4 separate regions of the Homo sapiens genome follow, and all the other regions are linked to region 4. The links are contacts of gene promoters, found by promoter capture Hi-C in blood cells and fetal thymus (Javierre and others, 2016). All regions are on one chromosome and are shown on one strand. The core of a region is centred on a gene start or on the middle of the fragment in contact, and the rest is flanking DNA. Distances in the headings are between cores, read along the strand shown. Region 1 has its middle 96 kb from the start of LINC02000. Region 2 overlaps RYK (receptor like tyrosine kinase). Region 3 has its middle 65 kb from the start of LINC02000. Region 4 holds the start of C3orf36 (chromosome 3 putative open reading frame 36).

Region 1 (3,608 bases), core at 621-3,120, 220 kb after region 4:
AGGTGGTGGCAGAATTATGAACAGGTGGAAAACAGTGGGCCAGAGGCCAAAGTAACAGCATTCACAATGGAATACAGCAGTAGAGTTTTCTGGTCAAAGACTTAGAAGCTAAAGGTGAGGTAGTAATTCCTACCAGGCTTTCATCTCAAATAATGGCAGGACTCACCAACTTAAACACCAAGCTGACTGGACACTCCCTACAGTCACTAAGACTCTTCACAATCACTGTACTTTGACAGAACTTTTGAAGCATTAAATATATTGCTAAAGGAAGCCAAATACCAGCACATTTCTGCAAAGCGGCAGACACTGCTAGCCGTTCCTCAAGAGCCATCGCCTTCCTTACCAATAGAAGCCCAATTTTGTATACAACAAGAACGTGATCAACTCAAAACTCAATTTCCTCCAATATGCATTAACTGATGAATGGTTTATATCCATACAATGGAATATCTGTCAGTAATAAAAAAGAATGAAGTACTGATACATGATACATGAAGGAATTTTGAAAATCCTATGTTAAATGTAAGAAGCCAAACACAAAAGACCACATGTTGTGTGATTCCGTTTATATGAATGGTCCAGAACAGGCAAATCTATACAGACAAAAAGTAGATTCGTGGTTGCCTAGAGCTGAGGGTGAGGGTGGAATTGGGAGTGACTGCTAATGGGTATGGGGTTTCTTTTTAGGGTAATAAAAATGAATTAGATTGTGGCGATGATTATACAACTCTGTGACTACACTAAAAATCACTGAGAATTACACGCTTTAAATGGGTGATACTAGAATTATATCTCAATAAAGCTGTTTTCAAAAAATAACAAAATCTAATTTCCTGGCATTACCCACCTGTAGCGCATGGAGTGCTCATGTGCGTTCAGGATATTAAGTTGTTGGTGGAAGCATACTACAGGAAGTTAGTAGTTTCCTCACAAAAAGGACTCAGTAACTCATGCCTCTTGCTTTTTGCCCTTGCTCATCTTCCTATCTGGAACAAGCTCTAGGCCCTTGGGGTCCCTAAGAACCACAGCATGCTAAAGACGGCAGAGCAGCAAAACAGGAGGAGACTGGCAATGGATGACACCCTGGGATCACTGCATTAGCATTGGTTTATCTCTCTCTGGAGCTGTTATGGGAGAAAAATGACCTGCCTTTGGTTAAGTGATTATGGTTGAATTTTTCCATTACTTGCAGCTAAATGCTATCCCTAATGATACAAACCTATCTAATATCAGCCTATGCTTATTCTCAGAGCCAAGAAGGCAAAAAGCAAAAAAAGACTCAGAAAGATGTAAAAAAGTTTATTGCAAATGTAACCTTAAGGCACCATAGAGTTAATTTCTTTAAGGGTAAACAGTTATTTTATTTTCAAACTATATTTTTTTTCCCAGTTGTAATATACCCCCAGAGGAGTGCTCACTCCTCTAAAGACAAATCATTAAAACATGCTTTATTGTTGAAATACTGAGAAACCAAGTATGAACAAATGATGTATTTGTTCAAAGAGAATAATGTTGAACATCATCAATCCCTATTTCTTTTTTTTTTTAATAAGTTTTTATCAGTATAACAAGAACATCTGGTCTTTGAAAAGTTAGGAGACATCTCCCATTAAAACCTATAGACCTGGTTAGCCTTAATTTCTTAAAGAACAGCGCTGTCAGGGAGAAAGCAGAGGCTCACCCATATGGTTCACTTACATATAAAATGTATGTTGTCAATATACTTATGCAGGATGTTTGTGTGTCTCAGAGAATTAAGTCCAATATTATCTTGAAATATTAAAGGTAAAAATGAAGGTAGAAAAAAATTAATTTAACAAGCAAGTATTTACATTTTTATTTTCTAGACCCATAAATTAAATCATCTCTTTTCTACTTTATGAGATGGGGGTGAGGCGCATGGAAGAATAACACCTGGAAAACAATCTTCCACTAAAATCAATGAATTACTTGACTTGGAATAATTATTGTCAAACTCCAAAAAAAGTTGACCTGTGGGAGTATGAAACAGAATTTACATCAGGCTTATTATTCCGGTGGCCAAAGAAATAGCAGGTAGAATAAAGTAAAAAGGTGGTAGCTGGGGGCAGTGGGAGTGGACTTAAGCCAGTTTGGGGATAGGATATGAATGGTCTTTCCTACCAACCTGTCTCTTTTTATTTCAAACTTTATCAGTTTATGTTGCATCAAACTTGAACTCTTCAAATATGAGATAATGCTTTTAAGGAATTAGAAGACTTCCTTCCTGTTTAAGCCTCTCTAATTGCTCTCCTGTGCAAAATTTAGATATTTTCACTCATTCATTCATTAAATATTCACCCCTACCATGTATTGAGCACACCACTAAAGCAATGGAGATTCAGATCTGAGTAAAACACAAGTTCCTATCCTCAAGGAACTCACAGCCAAGTGGTGAAAAATAAACCTCCATCTTACCTTTGTTAAAGTTCAAATCCAGGGAAAAAGGCTGAAAAGCAACCACGAAGCCTGGAGGAGAGCAGTAAGGTGTGAGAGGCACCTTCTTGGTCCCAAGGCGGCAGTGTGGGGAGTGCGGGGAGCACGTCATTCTCGGAGAAGGGGAAGGAGCATGCCGAGCGGCGGGAAGCGTGCAGGCCCGAAGTGGGGAGCAGGAGAAACGGCAGAGCTGAGTGGATACTCTGCCTAGGTCTGAAGTCTACTCTGAAGGCTCCAAGCAGGGACAGCGGCTCAGTTTTATAAAGTGTTACCTGGGCAGTTGCTGGCTAGAGGGGTTCAAGGCCGAGGCCAGGGAAGCAGCTATGGGCAATCTGGGCAAGGAAACATGACAGCTGCAAGCACAATGAGGGTGCCAGTCTGAAGTCCCAGGAAAGCCCCTCAACAGAGGCAGGCTGTTGGGTAATGGGACGGTGGCAGTTTTGTGTACCGCCTCCCTTACCTTACCTCCCTCACATTTCTCCCCCAGTAAACACACAACCCTTATACAACAAAAGGGCTCGGGGCCAGAGTGAAAGGCTTTCATGGTTGTGGACCAAATGGCAAGGAAGAGCAGTGGCCCATACCCCAGAGGGATTTTTCTCCCTCTACCGGATCATTCCCATGAGCCCATGAAACATTTTCTGGCACTGTACCTTCATCTGGAAAACACTCTCATCCCTGTCCCTCTTCTCCCGAAAAACCCCCTTTGATCTCCTCTAGTTATTGCTTCATTTCCCTTCACAGCAGGGCTGACAGTGGTAGGCCTTTACGTCCCCACCTGTGTCCACACTTCGACTTGCTCCAGTCCCCATGCTCCTGCCAGTTAACTCCATATTGCCAAATCTGATGGAGGCGTCTCCATTTTGAAACACGACCTTTCTTGGGCTCCTGCAACACCTCATTTTCACTTTTTTGTTGTTGCTTTTATCAATTACAGTGGCTTTTCCTGTCTTTGTTATCTCTTCTTTCTTCACTAGCTGGAACTGAAGGTTAGAATGCTCAAGACTCAGTCCTAGGACCTCCTCTCCATCTATACACTCTCTCCCTATCAACTCCATCCAGTACCATGGCTTTAAAAATAGTCTATATGCTATACTCCTACATTTGTATGTTCAATGAGACCTTCCCTGAGCTGCAGACTCTCATCTATC
Region 2 (3,426 bases), core at 848-3,347, 250 kb after region 4:
GAAATTTTACATGGCTGTAAAATATGAACAAGTGAACGTGGCTTCTGAAACTGTACATCACAAAGGGCCCAACTATGATCTGGCTAAGTGGCAAAACCACCCAGAAACTTGACAAAAGGAAGAGGATGACGGGGGGATTTACAAATTTTATGAGCCATAACACTTAGAAGAGGTCACCTGAAAAAAAGAAAACATCTTTATGATCTAGCAACTATTTGGTCTGCCTCTTATATAAGAAAGAAATAATAATGAAATTACTGTAACTGCTCTGAGTCTCAAAATCCTCACCTTTAAAACTGGGATACCACAGCCTATCTCCTAGTGTTAATAGTGCTTCTGTCAATGGGCGTGGTGGCTCACACCTGTAATCCCAGGACTTTGGGAGGCGGAGGCAGGTGGATCAACTGAGGTCAGGAGTTCAAGACCAGCCTGGCCAACATGGTGAAACCCCGTCTCTACTAAAAATACAAAATTAGCTGGGCATGTGCCCATGGTGGCACACGCCTGTAATCCCAGCTACCTGGGAGGCTGAGGCCTGAGAATCGCTTGAACCTGGTAGGCAGAGGTTGCAGTGAGCCAGGATTGCGCCATTGCACTCCAGCCTGGGCTACAAGAGTGGAACTCTGTCTTAAAAAAAAAAAAAAAAAAAGTGCTTCTGTCAGAGCAGTACTGTGAGGATGAAATGAGATTACAAACAGTGCTGGCCTATGGTCTGGGTCACAGCTCCTCTCCATAAACTGGTTGACTGGCAGCTAATTACACTTGCTTTCTGGATAAAAATTTCCGGGAACAGCTAGCAGATTTTTTAAAAACCCAAAAGATAAAAATAGTAGAACATTTAAAAACAGAAAGCTGTTTCTCTATTCTTTTGCTATCTGGGGGTCCCGGCACTTACCACATCACTAGCGCTAGAGAACTCGTTATTAACCAGACTTTCAAGAGCCATCCAACGAACTGGCCTGTTTTCATTGTCCCCCAGACAGTGATAGTCCATGGGGAACAAGTCTCTGGAGAGGGCATTGTCTGTGATCTTAACTTGAAGTGTGTCATCAATGCTGAAAAGTAAAGATATGAACATCAAATGCAATCAGAGTATTAAAAAGTAGGGATCATCACCACCCTTAAATACAACACAAGTCCCACTGTGACTCGCAGAGAACCCCAAATCCAGGAAGCACTCTACATCAAGTGACAGCGTCAAGCTCATGGCACCTACACACAGTTCCTGGCAGCCAGGTCTTTGTGGATGACTTCCCTTCTGGCCAGGTAGCTCATTCCACAGGCAATCTGAATAGCCATGTGTACCAGGTCTTGCTGAGAAATTGCCTGTGGTAACAAAAAATAACATGGTTTGCAAATAGCACACAAATATGATGGCACTTTCTTACTTTTTTTATTCCACAATCCTACTCCATCCAAAAATACTGCTTTAAACCTACACACAGAATTTTTAAAAGCTATTTCTTGACCAAGACTATGTTCCCATATATCCCTATACTTATATCAACTGTAGTCCTTATTATTCTGTAATCTACCATTTACTCTGTCTCCTTTCATCTGTTAGATGTATCTCCCCAATATCCAGCACACACAGCAGCTGCTCAATACATCTGTTCAGTGAATGCTGAGTTCTCAAGGTAATATTTCAAATGTTTATAATTCAGTAATCTTTTTTTCCCCCAAACAGTAGTTTTTATTAGGAGATTCTCTCTTTGGGATTATTTTCAAATTAACACAAATCTAAGCCTGGTGCAGTGGCTCATGCCTATAATCCCAGCACTTGGGAAGGCTGAGGTGGGAGGATCACTTGAGCCCAGGAGTTCGAGACCAACCTGGACAACATACTGAGGCCCTGTCTCTACACAAAATGATTTTTTTTTAAATTAGCCAGGTATGGTGGCATGTTCCTGTGGTCCCAGCTACTCAGGAGGCTGAGGTGGGAGGATTGCTTAAGCATGGGAGGTTGAGGCTGCAGTGAGCTGTGATCACACCACTGCCCTCTACCCTTGGTGACTGAGATCCTGTCTAATGAAACAAAAAACAAAAAAACCCTGCAGCTGGGTGCGGTGGCTCACATTTGTAATCCCAGCACTTTGGGAGGCTGAGGCAGGCAGATCACGAGGTCAGGAGATTGAGACCATCCTGGCTACCACGGTGAAACCCCGTCTACTAAAAATACAAAAAATTAGCCGGGCGTGGTGGCAGGCGCCTGTAGTCCCAGCTACTCGGGAGGCTGAGGCAGGAGAACGGCGTGAACCTGGGAGGCAGAGCTGGCAGTGCTGAGATCACGCCACTGCACTCTAGCCTGGGCGACAGAGCGAGACTCCATCTCAAAAAAAAACACAAAAAACAAAAAACAAACAAAAAAAAACCACACACAAACCCAAAGTACGAGCTCCTAGCTTTTTCTGCTGATGTGTTCTTCTAGGTGTATGACAGTACTTGGGGCTGAGGAATAAAATCCTTCCCCAGGTAATGCAGATGAGCCACAGCCTCTAACCACTTATTGAGAATCCCAGCTTTAGTCTTGTCAATTTACAAAGCATATGATACATATTAGGCCAAATACTGAATGCAGCCTTTGAACCCACTTTCTCCTGGCAACTATAATAAGCATACTATTATAAATCCTAAAGCAACTTAATGGGACAACAAGATACAGCTGACAGCAAAAAAAACCCACTAGGCTTTACTACCACTACCATCATAATATGCTTGGTATCTGACCTTTGCTTTACAGTTATAAACACAAGCAGGGAAGAGAAACACTCTTAGATGACTGCCATCTTACAGCCACGCATATTAACAATACATCCAATTATCTCCCACAATCTAGACCTCCAGTCATCACCAGACTTTGGTATAGTATGAACCAAATGGCTCTAGAAAGTCTGTTTCCATTCCTAAGAGGAAGATCTAGGACAAGTACCCTCAGTTATCAGGAAAACACCTAAGATGGCATTACAAAGGGTTTGAGTTGATTATGAATAAGTACACAACGAGAATATAAGGAAAACTTCAGCATCAGCACAGTGTAAGCCTCAAGGCAGGAACATAAGCCAACATTTTCCTTTAAGCCAACAGGTTATAAATATCTTGTGGTTCATTTTGAGGTTCTTTTTTGCAGGCCTCTAAACAGTTTATATTTAAGAATGTTAATATCTACTTTCAAAGACATTATCAGAAACTACTGGTAAATAATTGGTATTTGGGCAAATTTTTCTCACCTGTGGATTATTGGCCTCTACTAACTTGCACTGTCGTAAAAACAATTTAAGATTCCCCCAATTCATGTAAGGCAATATCACCATGGGCTTTTCTCCTTCTTCTATACACACATGAGTAATAGGAAGAAGATTTCTATAAAATAATAAAAAATTGGGAGAAAGACAAAGGAATCCAAAATGTTAGGGGCTTACTTCTAAT
Region 3 (3,769 bases), core at 189-2,688, 190 kb after region 4:
CAGGAGCATGCTGTCTAAGTTTCATGTATTTGTATAGTTTCTGAAGTTCCTCTTGGTATTGATTTCTACCTTTATCCCCCTGTGGTCTGAGGAGATACTTGATATAATTATGATTTAAAAAATTTCTTAAGACTTGTTTTGTGGCCTAACATGTGGTCTATCTTGCAGAATGTTACATGGGCTGATGAAAAGAATGTATATTCTGTACTTGTTGGGTAGAATGTTCTGTAAATGACTGTTAAGTCTATTTGGTCTCAAGTCTAATTTAAGTCCAATGTTTCTTCGTTAACTCTCTGTCTTGATGATCTGTTTATTGTTGTGAGTGGGATGTTGAAGTCCCCTACCATTATTTGATTGCTGTTTATCTCTTTCTTTAGGTCTAGTAACACTTGTTTTGTGAATTTGGGTGCTCTGATGTTGGAGATATATATATCCAACACATACACATATATATGATTGTTATATCCTCTTGCTGAATTGATACCTTTATCATTATATAATGATTTTGTCTTTTATTGCCATATTTAATTTAAAGTCTGTTTTATCTGTAAGTATAGCTACTCCTGCTTGCTTTTGGTTTCCATTTGTGTGGAATATCTTTTTCTACCCCTTTACTTTGTCTATATATGTCTTTATGGGTAGGGTGAGTTTCTGGTAGGCAGTATATAGTTGCATTATTATTTTTTAAAAATACATTCTGCCCATTTCTATCTTTTAAGTAAGCATTTAATCTATTTACAATCAAGGTTAATCTTGATATGTGAGGCTTTATTCTTGTCATATCATGAATTGTTTTCAAGTTGTTTTATAAATGCTTGTTTCATTTTTTTTCTCTTTTTGCCTTTGTGGTTTAATGAAATTTGGTCATGTTGCCATTAAATTCCTTTCTCTTCCTCCTTATTGTAGTTGTTTTATAAGAATTGTGAGTTTTATATTATGTGTTTTCATAATGGTGAACATTGACCTTTAATTTCCATGTTTTAGACCCCTTTAAGCATTTCCTGTAGGGCCTCTCTAGTGGTGACAAATTCCCTCAGCATTTGCTTGTCTGGGAAAGACTTTTTTTCTCCTTCATTTACGAAGCTTATTCTGGCAGGGTATAAAGTTCTTTGCTGATTTTTTTTTTCTTTCAGCACTTTGAAAATGCCATCCCATTCTCTTCTGGCCTGTGAGGTTACTGCTGAAAAGTCCACTGTGAGTCTGATGAGGTTGTCTTTATAGGTGACTAGGTGCTCTTCTTTTTGTAATTTAAAACTCTTTCTTTCACTTTAACTCTAGACTGAGTTAGGGAGAATGTTATATATTCTGAATATAATATTGCATGGTGAAGTCCTTTTTGCAATGTATTTGCCTGGGGATTCCTAGGCCTTGTGTATCTGGATGTCTGTCTTGTTAGACTTTGGAAGTTTTCATCAATTACTTCCTTAAATAGATTTCCTAAACTTTTTTATCTCTCTTCCCCATTTGGAATACCAATAATTCATTAGTTTGGTCACTGCATGCAGTCCTAGACATCTCAAAGGCTTTGTTCATTCTTTTTTATTATTTTCTTCCTTATTTTTCTCCGACTAGATTATTTCAAAATATTTGTCTTCAAGTTGTGACATTCTTTCTTCTGGTCTAGTTTATTACTAAGGTTTTAAGTGTATTTCATATTTCCTTCAATGAATTCTTTAATTCCAAAATTTCCACTTTTTTTAAAAGAGATAATTTCTTGGTAAATTTCTCATTCATATCTTGAATTTATATTCTGATTGCTTTGTATTGATTTTCAGATTTCTCTTGCATCCCATTAAGCTTCTTTAAAATCAGTGGTTTGAATTATTTACCTGGCATTTTGAGAAATTCTTTTTTATTAAGATCTATTGCTGGACAATTGTTGTAGTCCTTTGGTGCTGTCATATTTCCCTGCTTTTTCATGTTTCCTGTGTCCTTCCATTGATATCTGCACATCTGGTGTAGCAGTCTCTTGTTCCAGCTTTTGAAATTGCTTTCATAGGGTAGAAATTTTTCCTGAACACGTATGTATGTAGTTGGTTGAATATGATGATACTTTGGCTTTGATTTTGGGTGCCTGTGATAGTGTGATCTTAGTATGACTTCTCTGGCAGCACACAGGGTCCATGGTATCTGTGACTTCCTTAGTGGCTTCAGGAACAGTGATTAGCTGAGGTTGTGGTGAAATTTTCTGGGGACTTCAGTGACAACTGCACTAGTCTTCACCCAACAGCAGCAGCAGTGGGGTGAATGTGACTGTTTGTAGGCTCCAGAGCAACTTGCACTGGCTCCAGTATTAGTGGGTTCTAGAGAGCTGATTCTTGGGCCTCCAGGCGGCTTGTTTAGAAGTTAGTAGTGACAGTGGTGGGCCAGGTGTGTGGGTGGGTTCTCAGTCCAATGGGCAGCTGGTGTTGTGTGGGTGGTGACAGTAGTGGTGGTGGAACATCCAAATGGGATCCAAGCAGTCTGTGTTGTTGCTGGAAGCTGTTACGGGTTGGGTGGGCTAGTCCCCAGGTCCTCAGCCTCCTGCAGCAGGGCAGTGGATATTGTCCTGAATGTTCTTAGAAGAGCTTAATCTCTCCTGTCCCTTTCCCAGATGGGAGGCAGCTGCAGTACATCACTTATAACTCGGCTCAAGGATGGGCCCATCCTTAAACTCATTAAACTCATTAAACTCAAAATGGTGCCACCTATGAGTTTCTGAACAGATAGGGTGGGCAGCATGGGCTAGAAGCTGTGGACAGTGCGTCACACTCAAGTCTCAGTCTCACAGCAGCCTATAGCAGGGTGGTGGATATTGTCCTAGGAACATGTAGGAGAGCTTGGTTTTCTTGTCCCTCCTCAGATGGGTGGCAGCTGCAGCTTCATCAACTTGAACTCCGCCTGAGGGCAGGGCATAGCCCAACGTTAAACTCTCAAAATGGTGTCAGCTGTGGGCTTGTGACCAGAGACGGCGGGGCTTCTCTCAGGCAAACAGCAGAAGCAAGAAGCTGTGAAAGCGCAGTACCATTCGTGTCTCAGTTTCACAGCCGCCTATTGTAGGGCAGTGGGTTTTGTCCTAGATGTGCATAGGAGGGCCTGGTTTCCCCGACCCTCCTTGGCCAGGCAACAGTTACTGCCAGGTAAGCCTGAATTCAGCCTTAGGGTGAGGCACAGCCCAGTGTCAAACCCTCAAGGTGGCACCTTGGGCCTGAGACTAGAGAAGGCGGGGTCCCTCCCAAGCAAGCAGCTGTAAGGAGTGCAGTCTGCTCACATTCCATTCTCAACAGCAGCCTCAGTAGGGTGATGGAGACCCTCCCAATGGTGCATGGGAGTGCCTAGTTTCCCTCGCACCCTCCTTGGAGCAATGCAGTGGCAACAGCCATCATATGTAGATCCCCCGTATCTAAGCTCTCAAAATGGCGCCCAGCTGAGGCTGCTCAGGGCTCAGATGCCTGTGAGAGTTCCCTCTCTGGAGCAACATCTCTCTGCAATCTTTAGGCAGCTCCTTATGTTATGCCCAATTTCATAGTGGGTTTCTCCTGTGGCCAAGATTGTAAAAGCCAAGCCCTGGGGGTTTCCGTCTTATTGCTTCCCTGCATCCAGGAGCCTCTCATGATTCTGTCAGTCCTCTGCCAGGCAAGCTGCTTGCCTCCAACCCTCTCCTTACTTCTGGTGATTCCTATCTCTTCTCTGGTGAATCCTAGCATTCTCTTCTAGATGCTCTGCTTGAAATGTGAGTATTGTACTATTCTGCTTCCTCTCCTTAGAGGAGGTACGTACTACCTGCGTC
Region 4 (3,948 bases), core at 693-3,192:
CTGTGGAATGGCATGATTATTGCATCTCACAGGGCTGTCGTGAAGATTCAAGGAGCAAATGTATGTAAAGCGCTTCGGATGTCTGGTACATTCTGAGCCTTCAACCCACCTGAGCTGTTGAAACTCTGGGATTCAAGCGATTCGGGTCAAAGAGGAACGGTGTGACACCTGCCTCTGTCCTTTCCAAGGTGGACTCAGGGATTGCATACGTCTCATCCAGAACCCCCAGTCTCTCTTTTGTAAGCTGGCGGTCATGAGATGTAATGAGGAAAAGGTTTAAACAAATGTTGGTCCCTATCTGGGACCTCTGAAGTCACTTTTAATGGATTTGGGGATTTTACAGATTTAAAAAGGGGTGCCTACTGTGGCCCATTTATAGACCTGTGGAGCGAAGAGAAGGAGATTAGTCACACTGGGGGCCGGAGTAGAAGCCGTTTTAAATTAGTTGCCCCGCTCTGCCTTGAGACTGAGACTTTCTGACTCTCAGTTTCACCCTTGGGTTCCAGCACCCAGATGAGAAGAGAGAGAAGGTGGAAGAGGAAGAGAGGGAGGGGATAGAGCAGCGGCCACCACCTCTCCCTGAGAGGGCGCAGAGTGGGTGGTTCCCCCCAGGTGAGCAAGGTGGGGGCCCCGTGGGTGTGCTGGGTAGGGGTGGAGTGTGCTGGGAGCACGCGGGAGGACTGCGCCTCTGCTCCTCGGGGTGTGGCGCGGCCCACTCAGGAGCCCCTTCCAGTGTAGACTCCAGGAGGGTACTCTGAGCTAGGAATGCCTTCCTGAGCGTGGTTGGTGGGGGCTCTAAGGCCATTCCTCCAGGCCCTGAGGGGGCAGAGAGACACGTGAGCACTAACCCAGGAGCCGGGACTAGGCTGAGCCCACTACTCACAGCCTGGGGTAAGCCAGCCTCAAGACCCTCCAGGATGGTCTCAGCCTGCATCCGACTGCCTCTCCTGCCTGACCACTGCGCTCCTTCACAGGCCTCTGGCCGGCGAGTTCTCAAGATGTGCAAAGGTTTCCTGCTTCCTTACCTTTGCACACCTTTGCTTATTCCTTTTGCCCAGAAAGTCTTTCCCAGCACATTTGACTCTCTTGAATTCCAGTCTCTCCCGCATGGCTAGGATCAAGCCCGTTCTCCCATCGCTCATCAAATGAACTCAGAGCATAGTACTTTGCCCTGTGTTAAGGTCTTGTCTTAGCTCTGGATTATATGTCCTTGAAGGGTAGGGACCATGTGTTTGTCACCACCTGTCCTTATACACATCAGGTAGTACATAAATCAAGGGAGGCGTGAGGGACAACTGGAAGGAGCCTCGTTTTCTCCATGTACAGGATGGGACTAGTCATAGTGGCCGCACAGGGCTGTGGGAACTCTGGTGCGATTCTGCCATGAGTCACCCCATCTCCTCCTTGCCTGCAGGGTCTCGCTCCATCAGCTGTCCTCTTGGACCCCGCAGCCTCCCCATCCTGTGGCCTTTTGCCCCAGCAAATCTCTCCTCTCTGAAGCCATCCTTTCCTTGACCCTGCATCTCTCTCAGCCACCACCCCATCTCTGCCTCCTCTGAGCAAAATCGTCTTTCCCACCTCCCCAGCCCTCTGCAGACTGCCTCGGCCTTGCCTGGGCATCATCCCCTCAGCTTCAGGGACCCACAATTGGTGCTTCCTCCATTGGGAAATCTTTCCAGACTGTGCTTCCCAACCCCGACAGCCCCGCAAAGCTGGTTTAAGTGTCCCGGTGAGCAACTGTGTCCACCTAGGTTCACTACCCACAGTAGAGGGTTTTAGTGCTCAACCATATCTGCTCTTTTCTTCTCCTGAGCACACAGAATATTCTGTTCCGCTCTTGCGGCAGCTAGGCTGGGAGCAGAGTGAAGAGCGTTACTTTGGGACAAAGCATTGCTTAGCAGTGCGGGATCTTCCAGGACTTTCTTCCCCTGCCCCATCCATCATGGCAGCTTATAATGAAATGGAGGTACCTCAGGTTCCAAACAGTCTGAGTTACTGAGACACTGGTTGGGGGGGCTCTCAGGCCAATCCTCCAGGCCCTGAGCAGGCAGAGGGGCACTACTGAGCCACTGACCTGAGAGTCACCCAGATCACCACAGGTTCTGTGAGCGAGATACCATCTTTTGTTGTGTCAAGTGACTAAGATTCGAGAGGTTTGTTACCACAGCATAGCCAAGCCTTTCCCCACTGATTTACTGATTAAAGAAGTGTTTTAAATGGGTTAATGGCTTGGTAAACTGTAAAGATCTGTGCACATTTTAGTTATTATTATTGCTGTCAAGTTGTAGCAGGGCTGGAGACATGATGTGGCTGGAGAGTGGAGGAATGGCCAGGGTATGCCATGGAGAAAAACTTCCTCTCATTTATGATTTGCCAAGGGCTTTTCCAGGATCTGTTTCCATATTTAATCTCTGATGAAAGGTTATAATGAATCTGGTGTCTGGTGCTACTGGCAGGAGATGGACCTTTCTTCCAGGTATTTACTTCCTGTGGTTGCGAAAGATAGGATGTATTTCTTCTGGATTTGCTGCAATATAATATTTTAGTATCAATTTGATACTGACTGGCTTCAGCCTCCAGCTTAACTGTATCTCTCCATCTTTGAGAGTGGTTGAATAAAATCACAATATGGCTTTGTTTCTTGAGCAAGAATCTGCTAAGCAGTCACCAGATGGAGCTGTTCCCTTGAAGGTCTGTGTGCAGGATTCTCAGGGCCTTTTCTTCTCAAAACCCTTCCCTCTTTGTCTCTTTTCTCCACAACTCTCTTTAACTCATGGTGCTATAGGGATAAATTGGCCCTGTTTAATGAATAGTTGTGATGTTGTTGCTAGTTGAATAGAAGGTAAGTAAATGAACTGTTACCTGGTTCTTTTGCCTTTGTTACCCACCTTAATGGCCCTCAAGAGATTCCCCCACTTCCCTCCCATGGGCCAGTGAACATCAGTGGGAAAAGAGGGGCCTCCCCACCATTTTAGTCCATGCTGACTCTTCAGAATGACTCAGCTGGGGCAATTGGGCTGGACCAGAGAGAAGTGGACAGCCTGGTTTGAGTCTAGACCTGGCCAGCTATTATCTATGTGAAATTGGCCACAATGGTTGCTTCCTCGGGATCAGATTCCTCACCTTTACATGGGGCATCCATCATGGAGGATCACCCCAAAGGGCTTTGGGCCAAAGGATAATTGATAGAGATACGGTATTTAGTTATCACTGTATTTGCGCTTTTTCCAAGAAGGGTAAAAGAAGGATTGAATAAAAAAGGTTCCTGCACACTCTTCCTTTTCCGGCTTTTTTGTTCAGCCCTTGAGGAGCGGGATTCTGTAGGGAGAGGGAGTGGTGCAGAGGAGTGGGCTTCCTAGGACTGGGGCCGGGAGAGGGCATAGCCGCGAGTGTGCACAGGGAGGTGGGCCTAACCCTGGGGTCTCGGCTTTGTAGGGTTTCCAGGCTCAGGTGAGAAGCAGGGCCATTAAACAGCCTCAAATGGGAAAGGGACCAAAGACCCACAATGGCACCCTTGAATGCGTAGGCATCCAAGGACCTTCAGATGGCTCTAGGAGCCAGACCCAAGCATGGTTGATATTGAATTTCCAGCCAGACAGTAGGATGGGGGGTTTGAAATCAATAACTGATTTAAAGAAATAAGTGATTTTTTTCTTTTTGCACATCCAAGCTTGTGAAGTGAGAATGTCTCTCTCAGTACTGATAAGGGCCTCATATAAATGTGAGCTCTTGGATTGTTTTTCATGCCCATTGACTCTTAGTTGCAGCCATCCAAAAAATCAGATTCACAGGCATCTCTTCACCTTGTTATCCTTCACTCACCTTTGAACATACCAAAGGCCTATCGAGCCTGTAAATTTCTCAGTGGCCTAAGCACAAATGGGCATACCCCAGGCTCTATTGCACTGACAGCCCACCTCACAGGATTTGGGAACTACCCACATCAAT

The links. Contacts are between HindIII fragments. The CHiCAGO score rates a contact against its expected background, and 5 or more counts as called.
Region 1: a contact is called between a fragment that was not itself captured here and the fragment with the promoter of C3orf36 in region 4, in 1 of 17 cell types (endothelial precursors). The highest score is 5.4, in endothelial precursors.
Region 2: a contact is called between a fragment that was not itself captured here and the fragment with the promoter of C3orf36 in region 4, in 2 of 17 cell types (endothelial precursors and megakaryocytes). The highest score is 8.7, in endothelial precursors.
Region 3: a contact is called between a fragment that was not itself captured here and the fragment with the promoter of C3orf36 in region 4, in 1 of 17 cell types (endothelial precursors). The highest score is 6.8, in endothelial precursors.

Annotation. Positions count from the first base shown.
Region 1 is chr3:134,151,357-134,154,964 of GRCh38, forward strand. No RefSeq gene overlaps it. Among named protein-coding and RNA genes, the nearest start is that of LINC02000, 96 kb to the left of the region's middle. The HindIII fragment of the contact is 4,954 bases long and covers 1-3,608 here.
Region 2 is chr3:134,174,714-134,178,139 of GRCh38, forward strand. It overlaps RYK (receptor like tyrosine kinase), which reads right to left. Exons shown (of 15, transcript NM_002958.4): 11 at 3,228-3,360; 12 at 1,217-1,326; 13 at 896-1,055. Among named protein-coding and RNA genes, the nearest start is that of RYK, 74 kb to the right of the region's middle. The HindIII fragment of the contact is 4,593 bases long and covers 1-3,426 here.
Region 3 is chr3:134,120,722-134,124,490 of GRCh38, forward strand. No RefSeq gene overlaps it. Among named protein-coding and RNA genes, the nearest start is that of LINC02000, 65 kb to the left of the region's middle. The HindIII fragment of the contact is 714 bases long and covers 1,082-1,795 here.
Region 4 is chr3:133,927,870-133,931,817 of GRCh38, forward strand. C3orf36 (chromosome 3 putative open reading frame 36) reads right to left here and starts at 1,943. Exons shown (of 1, transcript NR_161373.1): 1 at 276-1,943. RefSeq lists a silencer at 1-101. The HindIII fragment of the contact is 5,965 bases long and covers 1-3,668 here.